2 separate regions of the Homo sapiens genome follow, and region 2 is linked to region 1. Evidence: promoter capture Hi-C in 16 types of primary human blood cells and fetal thymus (Javierre and others, 2016). All regions are on one chromosome and are shown on one strand. Each heading gives the region's core, a stretch centred on a gene start or on the middle of the fragment in contact. The rest is flanking DNA. Distances are from core to core; before and after follow the strand shown. Region 1 holds the start of CIBAR1-DT (CIBAR1 divergent transcript). Region 2 has its middle 72 kb from the start of FSBP.

Region 1 (6,561 bases), core at 2,827-5,326:
GTGAGTGGTGGGCGAGCTAGCATTAAGGCCTGAGCTCTGCCTCTTGTTAGATCAGAGGCAGCATCAGATTCTCATAGGAGTGCAAACCCTATTGTGAACTAAAGAAAAATTGTCTTCCACAAAACCGGTCCCTGGTGCCAAAATGGTTGGGGACTGCTGATGTAAATTATCAATAAAGTAACTTTTAAAAATAGAACTCTCTCACACATTTTAAAAGTCTAAATGCTATCGCTTTAAAGAAAAACTTATATTCATATAGTAAAGCAATTTCTGTCCATATATTTTTCATAATTATTTTAAAGTTTCCATAATAATGTCTATATTGCTACAGTATACTTAATAAGCTCATTAAAACTATTTCATTATTCTTAAAGATCTAAGTGATCTTTCAGAGTAAAAAGAATGACTATATACTACTTTGTATTTCTTTTCTTTTTTTTTTTTTGAGACAGAGTCTCACACTGTCGCCTGTGCTGGAGTGCAGTGGCGCTATCTCAGCTCACTGCAACCTCTGCCTCCTGGGTTCAAGCGATTTTCTTGCCTCGGCCTCCTGAGTAGCTGGGATTACAGGTGCATGCCACCATGCCCAGCTAATTTTTTTTATTTTTAGTAGAGACGGGGTTTCACTATGTTGGCCAGGCTGGTCTCAAACTCCTGACCTCGTGATCCGCCCGCCTCGACCTCCCAAAGTGTTGGGATTACAGGCATGAGCCACCACTCTTGGCCACTACTTTGTATTTCTTATTTAAAAAAACAATTGGAAACCTCATAGTCTTTGCCAGAGTAACTCACAGTTAAGTGAGAAAATGGATTTACTTACCCGTTTCATTTTCACAATGGTCCCATAAGTTTTCAAGGGTTCAACTACTTTGGCTTCAAGTCTTTCAACCTATTGAAAATTATTAAAATTTTAAATTAGAACGTTTAACATTTTAACCTATAAATAAAAGGCTAATCACTAGAAATTGATAAGACTCAGAATCTAAACTCAAAACACATTAAAAACTGTTAAGCTGCACAGTAATAGTAAAAGTAGAAAAGCACCTGGTGAGCAAAATGACAAGAAAATGTCTCAGGTTTCCCAGGAGCTCATCCTGGCCACATCATCATCTTAGGATTACTTTTTTACCTTAAAGTAGTAGTTTAAGGGTGTTAAGACAGTTCAAATTTTAATACAGCTAACATTTTCAGTGTGTTCAGCACAGTAATGGATACTTTGCATATATTATCTCTGAACTGTAATAGCTCAACTTTTCAGAAAAGAAAATCAAAGCTGAAAGACAGAGCATCTTGGAAACATTTAAAGCAACATAACCTTGAAAAGCAAAAAAGCTTAGAGATCACTGTATTTGCTGCATTTTTTTTTCTGAGAAGCCATTTGTGAATTATCGAAGCCTACAGAACAAGATAAATGGTCTGAGTTGCTGAGCTGTCAAACTGTATGTTTCATCTCTGTTTCATTTAGAATTAAATAGTTTTTCTTAAACGTTACAGGTTTTTAAATCACATTTTGAGTAATTACTTCTTTTACAAGTAGTACTAGTGGAAGGCACTGAAGAGAGATTTTTTTTAAGGCAAGTATTTAAATATAGCATAAGAAAAATAACTCTTGGACATTAAAATTTTTTTTCTCAAGATAGGTGATGTATTCAATTGCTTAAAATGAACATTTTTTAATAGCAGGAAAAGGGCTTTTTAATGATACATATTTATATAATTGACAAATACACTTAATTTCATATTGATTTTTCTTTAGTTTCTGTAAATGAAATGTATATGAATGTTTCATTTTAAAACATGTTAGGAAAATAAAAATCGACTTCTCATCAAGTATTCAAATATTAGGAATCCTAAAATCATGGATATTCAGGACAGTTTGCTTTACACCATTTCTTATAATCCATACTGATTATTCAGTTTAAGGATTATCTAAGTCTTTTTTCTGTTCTCCTTTTTGTTGCCTACCTTTTTGTCATTGTTCATTAGGACCTCCACCATTTGGTAAGCAAGGGAAATAAAAGGAGAACAAATGCAAATCAATTCACTTTGCTATTTGATAAATAGCACAAAGGTTTTCTACAAAGGGGCATTGAAATTATTGGCTAAAATAAGATTTTAGGATTACCTGTGAATATAAATTATCTTTGAAACATTAAGTCCCCAGTTATCATATATAATTGAGAGTTACTTGTTTATTACAGAAGTTTCATGACAAGAACTCCACATTTTTCCAAAAGTACCTCCAAATATGATTACTCTTCAAATTTGTATGGATAGCAATGATGAGTTCAATTTTTTTTATACTCATTCTGTTTTTTGAAAATTGAAATTCCCGTTTTAGGTTCTGAAAAGTATAAAAAAGCAACGCAGTTCTAACTGGGCAACTTCTGATAAGTTAACCTATGCCGTGAAACTGAAAATAAATACAAGTAAAAGTGCTTATTAAGTATTTAAAGGAAAAATATGGGCTTTTAGAAAGAAAACAATCACAAGGACACTTCTCCTGCTACCCAGAGCAAAAAGTCCACACGGTGTCTCAGTATTGGTTTGCTTCCATGATACAATTCATAGCATTTTGTTGTTGTTAGTAAACCATTGGTCAATTTTCCAAACCATGGATGCAGCAATGATGTCTTACCCATTTATTAATAATTTATCCATCCACATTACCATTCCCAACATTTCCATCTCCAGTCATTCTTTAAAACGTACTTATGTGCCACACAAGACATTAAGTTATGCTTATTTTCTTCCCCCTGGGTACTATTCCCACTACCCCCAGTAAACAGCCACCCCTTGGCCAAAAGTTGGCAAATAAAGTGGGGAAATTCAAGACCTCAAGATGCCCTAAAGGTTAGCTTGAAAAGGGTAAAATAAAACACAGAACGCTTCTCTTTAATAGACTCACACAGTCTTATGAAAATGTACGTTTTATCAAGTTTGCATCCACCTCTGCAGTTAGGTAGATTACAAGTGAAAGTTTCCACGGTTCCTTCATCCACTACTTCATGGCTCATTCATAACAATGACACTGTGATCTCACTCCATACCTCTGCTTGTCGATAATCCTGAAGTTTGGCAAACTCATCTGCAAAGTTCATCAGGCCCAGCTTTAAATGCGGGGTCTCTGTAGCAGCATACGCGTTAATTTCATTCACCAGGAGGTCTGCTTTGTCTCTCAGCCTGGCAGTTTTCCGCACATAGGCAGCGAAGATTTGGCACAGTTCTCCAAAATGCTTCTCCACATTTGAGACAGCTGTTTGCAGTTGTTTCGTTTGAGCGTTCCTAGGGAAAAGGTGACACAAAAGGCAAAACATTCTCGTTAGAGATGAGAAGGCTTCACGTTAATTTAACATGCAAACATTCCCCGGGCATTCTGCAGCTTTGAAGGCGTAAACCCATCAACGACCCAGCGTCTCCCGGCGCGGACTGCTCTCCATGGGGTCCTGACCTCACTATCCGGACTGTGTAGGCACAGGAAAAGGCCCAGGCCGGGTGGGCCTGGCCTTAACTGGGGAGGTGGCTGCTCCGGCTGCTCCGCGCAGCGCGGCCTGGGCGCCCGGCTGCCTCCTAGGCTTCCGCACTGCCCGCGGCAGTGTGGGGACCCGAGACCCGGTGGCGTGGGTGGGTGGCAGCCGGCCGGGCCCCGGGCTCCTCTTCGCCGCCGGCGGTGGCTGCAGCCCAAGGAATTAGGCCCCAGGTCACAGCGGGGACCGTGCAGCCTCCCACTCAGGGTCGGAATTCGGCGCAGAGGCCCCATGGACAGAGGCTTCCACTTCCCTCACCCCAGCCCTCCAGTGTGGGCGGCCCTGGGCAGCTGGGCTCGGGCTGTTACCGGTTTTCCAGGGTGCGCCTCATCATGCTGCCTCGCGCACGGCCGGGGACCTTGCGGGGGCCCAAGGACGGGGATTCCAAGGCGCCTGGGCGCGCGCTGGGGCGCAAGCAGCCGCCGGGAGCCTGAAAGCCCGCCCCTCGCGCCGCCGCGGCAGGCCGGGCGTTTCTATGGAAACGGGGCGCGCGCCCCCGCGGTCAATGCCCGAGGCAGCCTGAGCGCGGCTGGGGCTCGGAAAGCGCCAAGCAGGCAGGGACCGAGAGGGGTGATGGCGCGCCCACCCCTGCAGAGCCGCCTGCGCGGTTGTCCCGCGCGTCCCTGCCGGCGAAGGCTGTGAGAAGCACCGCGGGGCTACGGCGCCTCCATCCTCTCTAACAGCCGCGCTTACCAGACAGCCAGCCTCCAGCGCTGCTAGGCTACTCCGAGCAGGGGAGAAAAGACGCCGGTCCGCCGGGGACCAGGAGGGAGACGTGAAACCAGAGGCCCGGGGGCCCCCTCTCCGCCTGTGCGACTTGTAGTCTCGTACCAGACGCGTCCGCTTCACTGCTGAATCTGAAAACGTGGGCTCTTGAGAGCTGCCCTTGGAAGGAGCTGTGCTTTCTGCCTCATCTTTAACTTTTCGTTTATTCAGCAAATATGTATCAAGTTCCGACTTCGTGGAAGAGATTGTGTTAGACACTGGGAGTAATAGAAACATAATTAAGAAGCAGGGGTCCCGGACCTGAAGGGCCTGAGCGTCGGGTAAGGAGGCAACGCTTACACCGAACCTGTGCTGAGATAAATAACGAACAGTTCTGGCTCTTAGAGTTGGCCTGGGGGAACAAAAATTCAAAAAGAATAAAACCCCAAACAAACAGGAGGCTCTCCTTTGTCCTTTGAACGCCTCTGTCCCTTTGACCCTCCTGGCCTTGCGTGTGCTGCTTTTCCCAGTAAATACTGCAAGGACTCTATTCAGACTTTGTTTATTTATATATGTATTTTAGATGGAGTCTCGCTCTGTTGCCCAGGCTGGAGTGTAGTGGCACAATCTCGGCTCACTGCAACCTCCGCCTCCTGGGTTCAAGCGATTCTCCTGCCTCAGGCTCTCAAATAGCTGGGATTACAGGCGTGCACCACTATGCTGGCCTGATTTTTTGTATTTTTAGTAGAGACGGGGTTTCGCCATGTTGGCCAGGCTGGTCTTGAACTCTTGGCCTCAAGTGATCCGCCCCCCTTCAGCCTCCCAAAGTGCTGGGATTCCAGGCGTGAGCCACCGGGCCCGGCCTCAATTCAGACTTTATCTGCTTCAAGAAACCTCTCTGGGATCCTCCGTCACTTCACTTTTTCAGGCAGCGTTAGGGCCTTGTCCTAACGCTTTGGGACGGGGTCCTAATACTGTCTGAAGGAGCGAAGTGTTGGAATGCTCAAACAGTACACTTCGTTGATTTTGTACTGCCTCCTGTACCCTAGACTTTGAACCCTTTGAGACAGATTAAATGTGATTTTGGTCTTGTATTCCTCGCTGCCGTGTGCTGCTGATTAAAAGTTTTTATTTTGTACAAATAGATGTCCTCAGTCCTTTGTTTTGAACTTCCCCTATTCGCTTGTGTTACAATGTGTATCTCTCTTTGCTCCTTGCATTCGCTCAGCATGTTATTGGTTGGATGCCTGGTGTGTTCCAGGTATTATGCTTGGCTTTGAGGTTGGCACAGTAACCTAAGGTCAGAATAGTCTGTGCTTTTAGAGAGCTCACAGTTATGTGGCAGTGATAGAAGCTAATCAAAGATGTGTAAAATTGCCACTGAGGTATGTGCTACTGTATCCACTTTTGCAGTGTAACAAATCACCACAAAACTTAGTGACGTTTTACAATCGTTTGGTTAGCTTGGGATTCTGAGTGAGCTGGGTGGTTCTTTTACCTTGGTTCTGCTCAGCTGGGCTCTTACTCACCTTTCTGGTCAGCTGGCGGCTGGATGATCTAAGAGGCCTCACTTCTGTGTCACGGCATTGGCAGGTCGTCAGCAGGGGCCACGTGTTTCTTATTGTCTAGCACCTCAGCCAGGCTTCTTTCCATGGTTTCAGAGTTCCAAAACAGTGGAGCAGGACAAGTCAACTGCACAAGTGCCTTTCAAGTCTCTGCCTATGTTATGTTTGCTGATACACTATTGGCGGATGCAAGCCATGTGGCCTAGACTAGAGGGATCAGAGTGAGAGGGCAGTGGAAATGTTACGGATGGTGTGGTTGGTAGAGGAATTGGTGGCTACTTTTCCAGTCTACTATTAGGGGAAACTACATGGCAGCAATTGAGTGTATACTTAATATAGAGGTTTGGTTTGAACTCATCAGGGAAGGACTTCATTGAGAAAGTGACATTTGAGCTGAGATCCAAAGAATAGGAAGGAGTCAACTAGGTGAAGAGGGAGTGAAAAACAGTCCCAAGAGAAGGACAGTATGAGCAGTTTGTCCCCTTGCCCTCCCCCAGCCCCATTCCCATCTCTACCCAGAATTTCATATCTCAGAAAATGATGCTATTGCCCAGTTGATTGTTCAAGTCAAAAACTTAGGAGTTACCCTTTCTTTTCTCCAGTCACATGGGCAATTCCTATCTGTTCCATCTCCAAAATATATCCTGAATCATTCTTCATTTTTTTCTACATCCCCATAATCCAAACTGCTACCACCAATCATCCTTACTGCAAACCTCCCTTACTAGTCTCCCCATGTCCACTGTTAAACATCGCAGTGTGAA
Region 2 (6,834 bases), core at 1,338-3,837, 670 kb before region 1:
AGGGAGAGAGATGGGGTAACCAACAGTTGGTGGAGCAGTCAGAACACACACAACATTTATTGATTAAGATTGCTATCTTACATGGGCATAAGTTATGGTACATCAAAACAGTTACAATAGTAACATCAAAGATCACTGATTACAGATAACCCTAACATATAATAATGTAAAAGTTTGAAATATTGCAAGAATTACTAAAATGTGACACAGACATGAAGTGAGCATGTTTTGGGGAAAAGTGTCACTCATTTGCTTGATGCAGGGTTGTCAGAAACCTTCAATTTAAAAAAATCACAATATCTGGGAAGCACAACAAAATGGGGTATACCTGTATTGTCTTGAGGTGTTAAATACTCAGTTATGTATAATCAAGGATGAATTCTTTTAATTTGTTAGTGCCATACCTGGGTAGCTAGCTGTACATCTAGGATTCATGAACAGGCAGTTTGGGACCAAATTCGTCAGTGAGGAAGTAGCCAACTAGTAATAAGTAAAAATGGTATTTCTTGGCCCCATGTATATAGACTTCATGCATGAGGCTTTATATACAACTTTTTTTTTTTTTTAAGAGATAGGGTCTCACTATGTTGCTGGACTGAACTAAACTTTCAATATCTATCTTGCATCGTATCCTTTTCAGGCATAAAGTACTTAAAAAACATTGATAAAGGGCAGGTAATTCTGCCTGTCTTTTTAAACAAAAATTTATGTATGTATGTATGTATGTATGTATGTATGTATGTATGTATTTATTTTATTCACATAGTTCCAGCCACTCTGCAACTGCTGCCTGTCTTAACTGTGGTGTATGCAAGGGTGTGCTGCCCAGATTGCCCCTTTCAGAACCAAGGCGCTTGTTTCTCCAGCTGCCAGAAGCATCACCTGTGGGCCACTTATAGCCAAATTCTTCCCCAAGAATAGCCCTCAGCTGAGAGGATCTGCCTCACCCAAGATTATGCTCCTCCCCTGGTTGGCCAACATTTGAGACTGGTGGATGCTGGGTAGAAAGGCCCAGCACCCTTATCTCAATTCAAGACAAATCTGTCAAAAGGAACATTTCAGCTCCTTAGGTAAGGGTGCTGGGCCCTGTTTTTATAGTGGATACCTATTGTTCTTCATAAAGTTGTTTGTTTGCCAAGTAGTGTGGGAAGTAACCTTCCATCCATTTCTCTGCCTCACTCTGAAATCTTCCAGTATCCTGCATGAGAGTGATTTTGCAGTAGAAATTTCAGAAGAGGCTGAATTTCATGGGAGAACCCATGTGACATGGAATAAAGGTAGCATATGTGGCATGGGATCTCAGAGGCTGAGAAGTACAGAAGATAGCCCTCTGGGAATTGATGAAGACTTTGGACTTTGACAAGCCAGGCATTTGTGGGGGTATAGACTCATTTTATCCACATGTTAAGGGACCTTAACACCTGGTTTGCACGTATAAAGCAGCTTTTGCGTGAGAGGTGCTGTTTATAAGAATTTTCCCTTTCTCTATGTTCCCAGTCCATATGCTCATGTGGTCGCATGCTCTCCCTCTCTCTCTTGGTGGACTCCTTTGAGGATGGGGATTTAATCTTACTTACCCTAATATTCTCAGGACCTTGTATGGGACCTGGCATAGAATAGCTATTTAGTAATTGAATGAATGAATGAGGTACTTTACCTCTTTTACTTCTTTAACCACCTTGATCATGTTTCTTGCTCATAGATCTCAGTTTCAAGGTATTTATTTACGCCAACTGCTGAGCATGGAGCTGTGCTCAACACTGAAGAAAGCAGAGGCAGCAGTTTCTTCTTGCCTCTGACAGCATCCAGACTTCCCTTTTTGTTATTGCGATCTGTCAATCTGCTGCATGAGCTGACAGAAGCTGTCACTGCAATGGGTAATAATTTAAGTCACATACATAATTCATTTCTAATTACACAAATACACCTTTCACACAGCTTTATGTCATAATGTTCTGGTTCTAAACGACAATGCAAATACATTTCAGTCACGTTTTCATTAGGATTGAATTACTAAAGCTGAATTTAAACATGAGCAGCTCTGATCTGCAGAACTAAACTCCTAGACAGCCTATCCATCCATTTAAAAGGGTGTATGACAAAGGAGCAAGTGAAAAAAATCTGGCTGGCATTTCATTTGAGTGGCTCAATTATGGCCTACAGTCACATTGCCTGAGCAACTGTGTCCTAATATTATGTGGCAAGATTAAAATTTTGACTGTGACTCACAGCAAACAATATGTATAATTAGCTTATGGCTTTGTTTTTCTGAATTGTTCCCAAATTAATATATTGTATCCTAGAGGGATTTGTAGATATGCTATTTTGGTATTCAAGGAAGGCTTCAACATGACTTGATAGAAAGGGATATTATTTTGTCTTACCTTGTATGATAAAAACATGTTTTTGGTTTAGACCAGTTTCCTGTGGCACTTTTCTATAGCTAACCTGTGATCTTTGCTTCAAACCATTACAAATTTCTATCCCTAAGATACTGTGTTCACAAAACCAATACCAATTCAGAATACAGCTTTTATGATGTAAAAACTGTAAAAAAAAAAAAAGTACCTTATTGACAGACAATAGTTTATTGGAATTTGTTACACTTACTTGAAAACCTGAAGTGTTCAGTGTGATTTAATCTTTACAATTTTTTTAGATTTATTAAAAATTATTTTTTGTGAGTAAGAAGATAATAAAATTCCAAAGTAGACCAAAATTAACAATTCCTTTATTTTTATTTTTTGAGGAAATGTCAACAAAATACTGAAGACTTTTTTTGAGTAGTTAAAAAAAATATAACATCATAAATGTCTACAGCATAAATTCTGGCCGGGCACGGTGGCTCACACCTGTAATCCCAGCACTTTGGGAGCCGAGGTGGGCAGATCACAAGGTCAAGAGATCGAGACCATCCTGGCCAACATGGTGAAACCCCATCTCTACTAAAAATACAAAAATTAGCTGGACGTGGTGGCACGTGCCTGTAGTCCCAGCTACTTGGGAGGCTGAGGCAGGAGAATCGCTTGAACCCGGGAGGCAGAGGTTGCAGTGAGCCGAGATTGTGCCACTGCACTCCAGCCTGGGCTACAGAGCAAGACTCTGTTTAAAAAAAAAAAAAAAAATCCTTTGTACCTGCAATGTATTTATTTTCACGTATTCCTTTTTTTTTTTGAAGTAGAGATGGGATCGTGCTGTGTTGCCTAGGTTGGTCTCAAACTCCTGCCTCTGCCTCCCAAAATATTGGTATTACAGGTGTGAGCCACTGTACCCATTCCCTGTTTTATTATTAAAAATTTCATCTCTGGAGGTATGCATAGTTTATATAGTAATTATAGATCAAGTTAGAATTTGAAATTGGGAGTTAAAATCCTTCCTGAGTATTTATTTCTGGATGTGTCTGCGAGAGTGTTTCTAGAAGAGACTAGCCTTTACCTATAGAAGAGATTTGCTTTATCAACATTGGTTTGTATCATCCAATCTTTTGAGGACCTGAATAGAGCGAAAAGGCAGGGAGGGTAAATTTACTTTCTGTTTGAGCTGGAACATCCATCTTCTCCTACCCTCTGACATCGGAGCTCCTAGTTCTCAGGCCTTTGAACTCAGACTGGGACTTACACTATCACCCGTGTCTTTGTCCATTTGAGGTGCTATAGCAAAATACCATAAACTGGATAGCTCATAAACAACAGAAATTTGTTTCTTACAGTTCTGGAGCGGGGGTAGTCCACGAACAAGGCACCAGCAGAGCCAGTGTCTGGTGAGGGCCTGCTCTCTGTTTCATAGATAGCACTGTGTAGCTGTTACCTCACATGGTGGAAGGGACAAGGAGTCTCTCTTGGGCCTCTTTTATAAAGGCATTAATTCCATTCATGAGGACTCTGCCCTCATGACCTGATCACCTCCCCAAGACCCCACCTCCTAATATCACATTGGTAATATGGTTTCAACATGAATTTGGGAAGGACACAAACATTCAGACTATAGCAACCCCTTATCCCCTTCTCAGGCCTTCAGACTCAGACTGGGACAGCAGATTTTGGGACTTCTTGCCTTCTATAATTATGCGAGTCTATTCCCATAATAACTCTCTATATATCTATTTATCTCTGGACAATTCTGACCAATACAGATGTATACCATTGTTTAGCATCTGAATGGAACAAAATTACAACTGCTACATTTGTTTAAAGAAAATCTATAGGAATGTCAATCTAATGCTTCTGTCTCTTACATAAATATAATGATGCTAAGTAAAAGTTTAGTATTTATAAACCTCTGTTTATTATGTATGCAGTATAGCCATTATGGACTAATATAAATAAATGAGATAAGATAGGATCAATGATTTTCTGAAGCAGACCAAAATGAACACGTGAAAATCAGGTGCTTGAAACATGTGATAATCTACATTTATTTAGCTCTTTACAGATAAGTGGTTTGCTCCTCACAACAATGCTGAGAGTTGAACAGAGCAAATACTCTATTATCTCCGTTTTATAGATTTAAGGCTTACAGAGATTAAATAATTATTCAAGATCATTCAGTGACAGAGCTGAAACTTGAACACCAGCCCCTCTTTTAACTCAAAATCTGAAGCTCTTTCCAGTGCACTGTCCTGCCTTTTCTATGATTTCACCATGCCAGGTTCCTGAGACAGATGTATATGTGAGAAGAAAAATGAACTAATGTGAGTGTTTCATATCATGTTCTCTTTTCAAGTGAATTAATTAAAGAATTGGGTTTTGGATTAGGGTGTGTGAATTTCATGAGATCTGAATCTTATGTTTATCCTTTCACAGAACAATAGACATGGTATTTTACAATTGAAGCAGTTGATTTGATTGACCACCCTTTCTGCTCAGATTGCTCAAACTGACAACTCACAAGACAAAAACACAAGGTCACAAGACACTGTGGGCTGCATCCAGCTTTAGGTTTACTTATCTTTAAGAAAGCATACACAGCAGGCAACGAGAAAGCATGGATTGCAAAAGCAGAGTGGAACTCTTATGAGTCCAGGCTAGGCTTCCAAATGTCTCAGTCTCTCTGTACCGAGGATACATGTGGTCATGTGAGACAAGACTGAGTGTGTGTAGAAAACCACCATTAGTGGGAGCCATCAGCTCTGGGATTCCTTCAGCTTTCATACTTTGTTAAGGTGGGAAACAAAAAGTACATATGGAGGTCAAAATATCCCTTTCATTTTTGGTAATAGCTTACTTGATTGGCTTGGCTTTACATCTGTTACCCAAGTGGGTTGTTAATACTGAGCTCTGTCCTACCCATGAGGAAATGTTTCCCAGGTAAGCTTCAGGGTTCGGAGGCACAGAAGAAGCTTGTGTTTTTTGTTTTCTTATTGTTGCTATTTTTGAGATAGGATCTTGCTGTGTTGCCCCGGCTGGAGTTCAGTGGCACTATCGTAGCTCACTGCAGCCTCGAACTTCTAGGCTCAAGCTATCTTCCCACCTTAGTCTCCCTAGTAGCTGGGACAATAGGCATGTGCCACAATGCTTGACTAATTTTATTTTATTTTTTGTAGAGACAGGGTCTCGCTATCTTTCCAGGGCTGGTCTTGAACTCCTAGCCTCAAGCAGTCCAGCCACCTTGGTGTCCCAGAATGCTGGGATTACAGCCAAAAATCACTGCACCCTGCCTTGAGAGCTTGTGTTTTCTACACGCAAACTCATTTCCAGGAGGAAGAAGGTGGAGATATTTCCATTTTTTTTTTTTGCAGTTTTTTTAAATTGAGGTAAAATTCACATATTATAAATCATAATTAAAAATAATTTATTGAGGTGAAGTTTATATGGCATAAAATTGATTATTTTAAAGTGTACAATTCAGTAGAATTTAGTACATTCACAGTGTTGTTTAGCCATCACCACTGTCTTATTCCAGAACATTTTCATCACCCCCAAAAGAAACCCCATACCTGTAAGCATTTACTCCTAGTTCTAGGATGAACTGTGACCATTGTGGTCCCTTTCATCTTCTGCTCTAAAACAGCAGCAAGGGAAGGAGGGTAACTGAACTTTTGAGGTTCTTTAGAGGTTGTTCCTCAGGGCCATGAAAGTAGGGTTGGGATGGGGAGTGACAGTGCACTGAGCAAGGTTCTAGTGGGTCCTTTATCCCACCTGCTGGTTGTCAACAAAGGGTTCCAGTGACTTCTACTGCAGGCCTATTTTAACTTTCCATTTGTATTAGGGTTCTTCAGAGAAACAGAAACAATATGAGATCTCTCTCTATATATCTATATCTCTCTATATCTATCTCTATACATCTATCTGTCTGTCTGTCTATCTATATATATATACTTAGAAATTTATTTGTTTTAAGAAATTGGCTAAAGGGATTGTAGGGGCTGGCAAGTCGAAAATCTGTAGGGTAAGCCAGCAGGCTGGAAACTCAGGCAGAATTTCCATGTTGCAGTTTTGAGGAATTCCTTCTTCTTTTGGAAACCTCAGTCTTTGCTTTTATTGCTTTCAGCTGATTGAATGAGGCCCACTCACATTATAGAGGGTAATCTGCTTTACTTAAAGAAAACTTAGTGTAAATGTTAACCACATCCACAAATACCTGTACAGCAACCTCTAGACTAGTGTTTGACCAAACAACTGGGCACCATAGTCTAGCTAGGTTGACATAAAATTAACCATCACATCATTTACTCTTATTTATTTTATTTTAAATTAATAGCAGCTGTGTAGCACTCATTGCCTGCCAGGGACTTTTCTAAGTGCTTTATGAATATTCATTTAATATATTTATGCTTATTAACAAGGATCCATTATATGTACATGAATACAAATCTTAGTGTATAAATATAAGTTC

The links. Contacts are between HindIII fragments. The CHiCAGO score rates a contact against its expected background, and 5 or more counts as called.
Region 2: a fragment that was not itself captured here is called in contact with the fragment with the promoter of CIBAR1-DT in region 1 in 3 of 17 cell types (M0 macrophages, M1 macrophages and M2 macrophages); the score reaches 9.8 in M0 macrophages.

What each region holds. Positions count from the first base shown.
Region 1 is chr8:93,697,948-93,704,508 of GRCh38, reverse strand. CIBAR1-DT (CIBAR1 divergent transcript) reads left to right here and starts at 4,076. Exons shown (of 11, transcript NR_033858.1): 1 at 4,076-4,573. It overlaps CIBAR1 (CBY1 interacting BAR domain containing 1), which reads right to left and starts at 3,959. Exons shown (of 9, transcript NM_145269.5): 1 at 3,836-3,959; 2 at 3,051-3,285; 3 at 821-889. The coding sequence starts at 3,861. RefSeq lists silencers at 3,611-3,730, 3,921-4,060, 4,091-4,140 and enhancers at 3,707-4,331, 4,361-4,440. The HindIII fragment of the contact is 5,458 bases long and covers 1,335-6,561 here.
Region 2 is chr8:94,361,977-94,368,810 of GRCh38, reverse strand. No RefSeq gene overlaps it. Among named protein-coding and RNA genes, the nearest start is that of FSBP, 72 kb to the left of the region's middle. The HindIII fragment of the contact is 5,452 bases long and covers 1-5,313 here.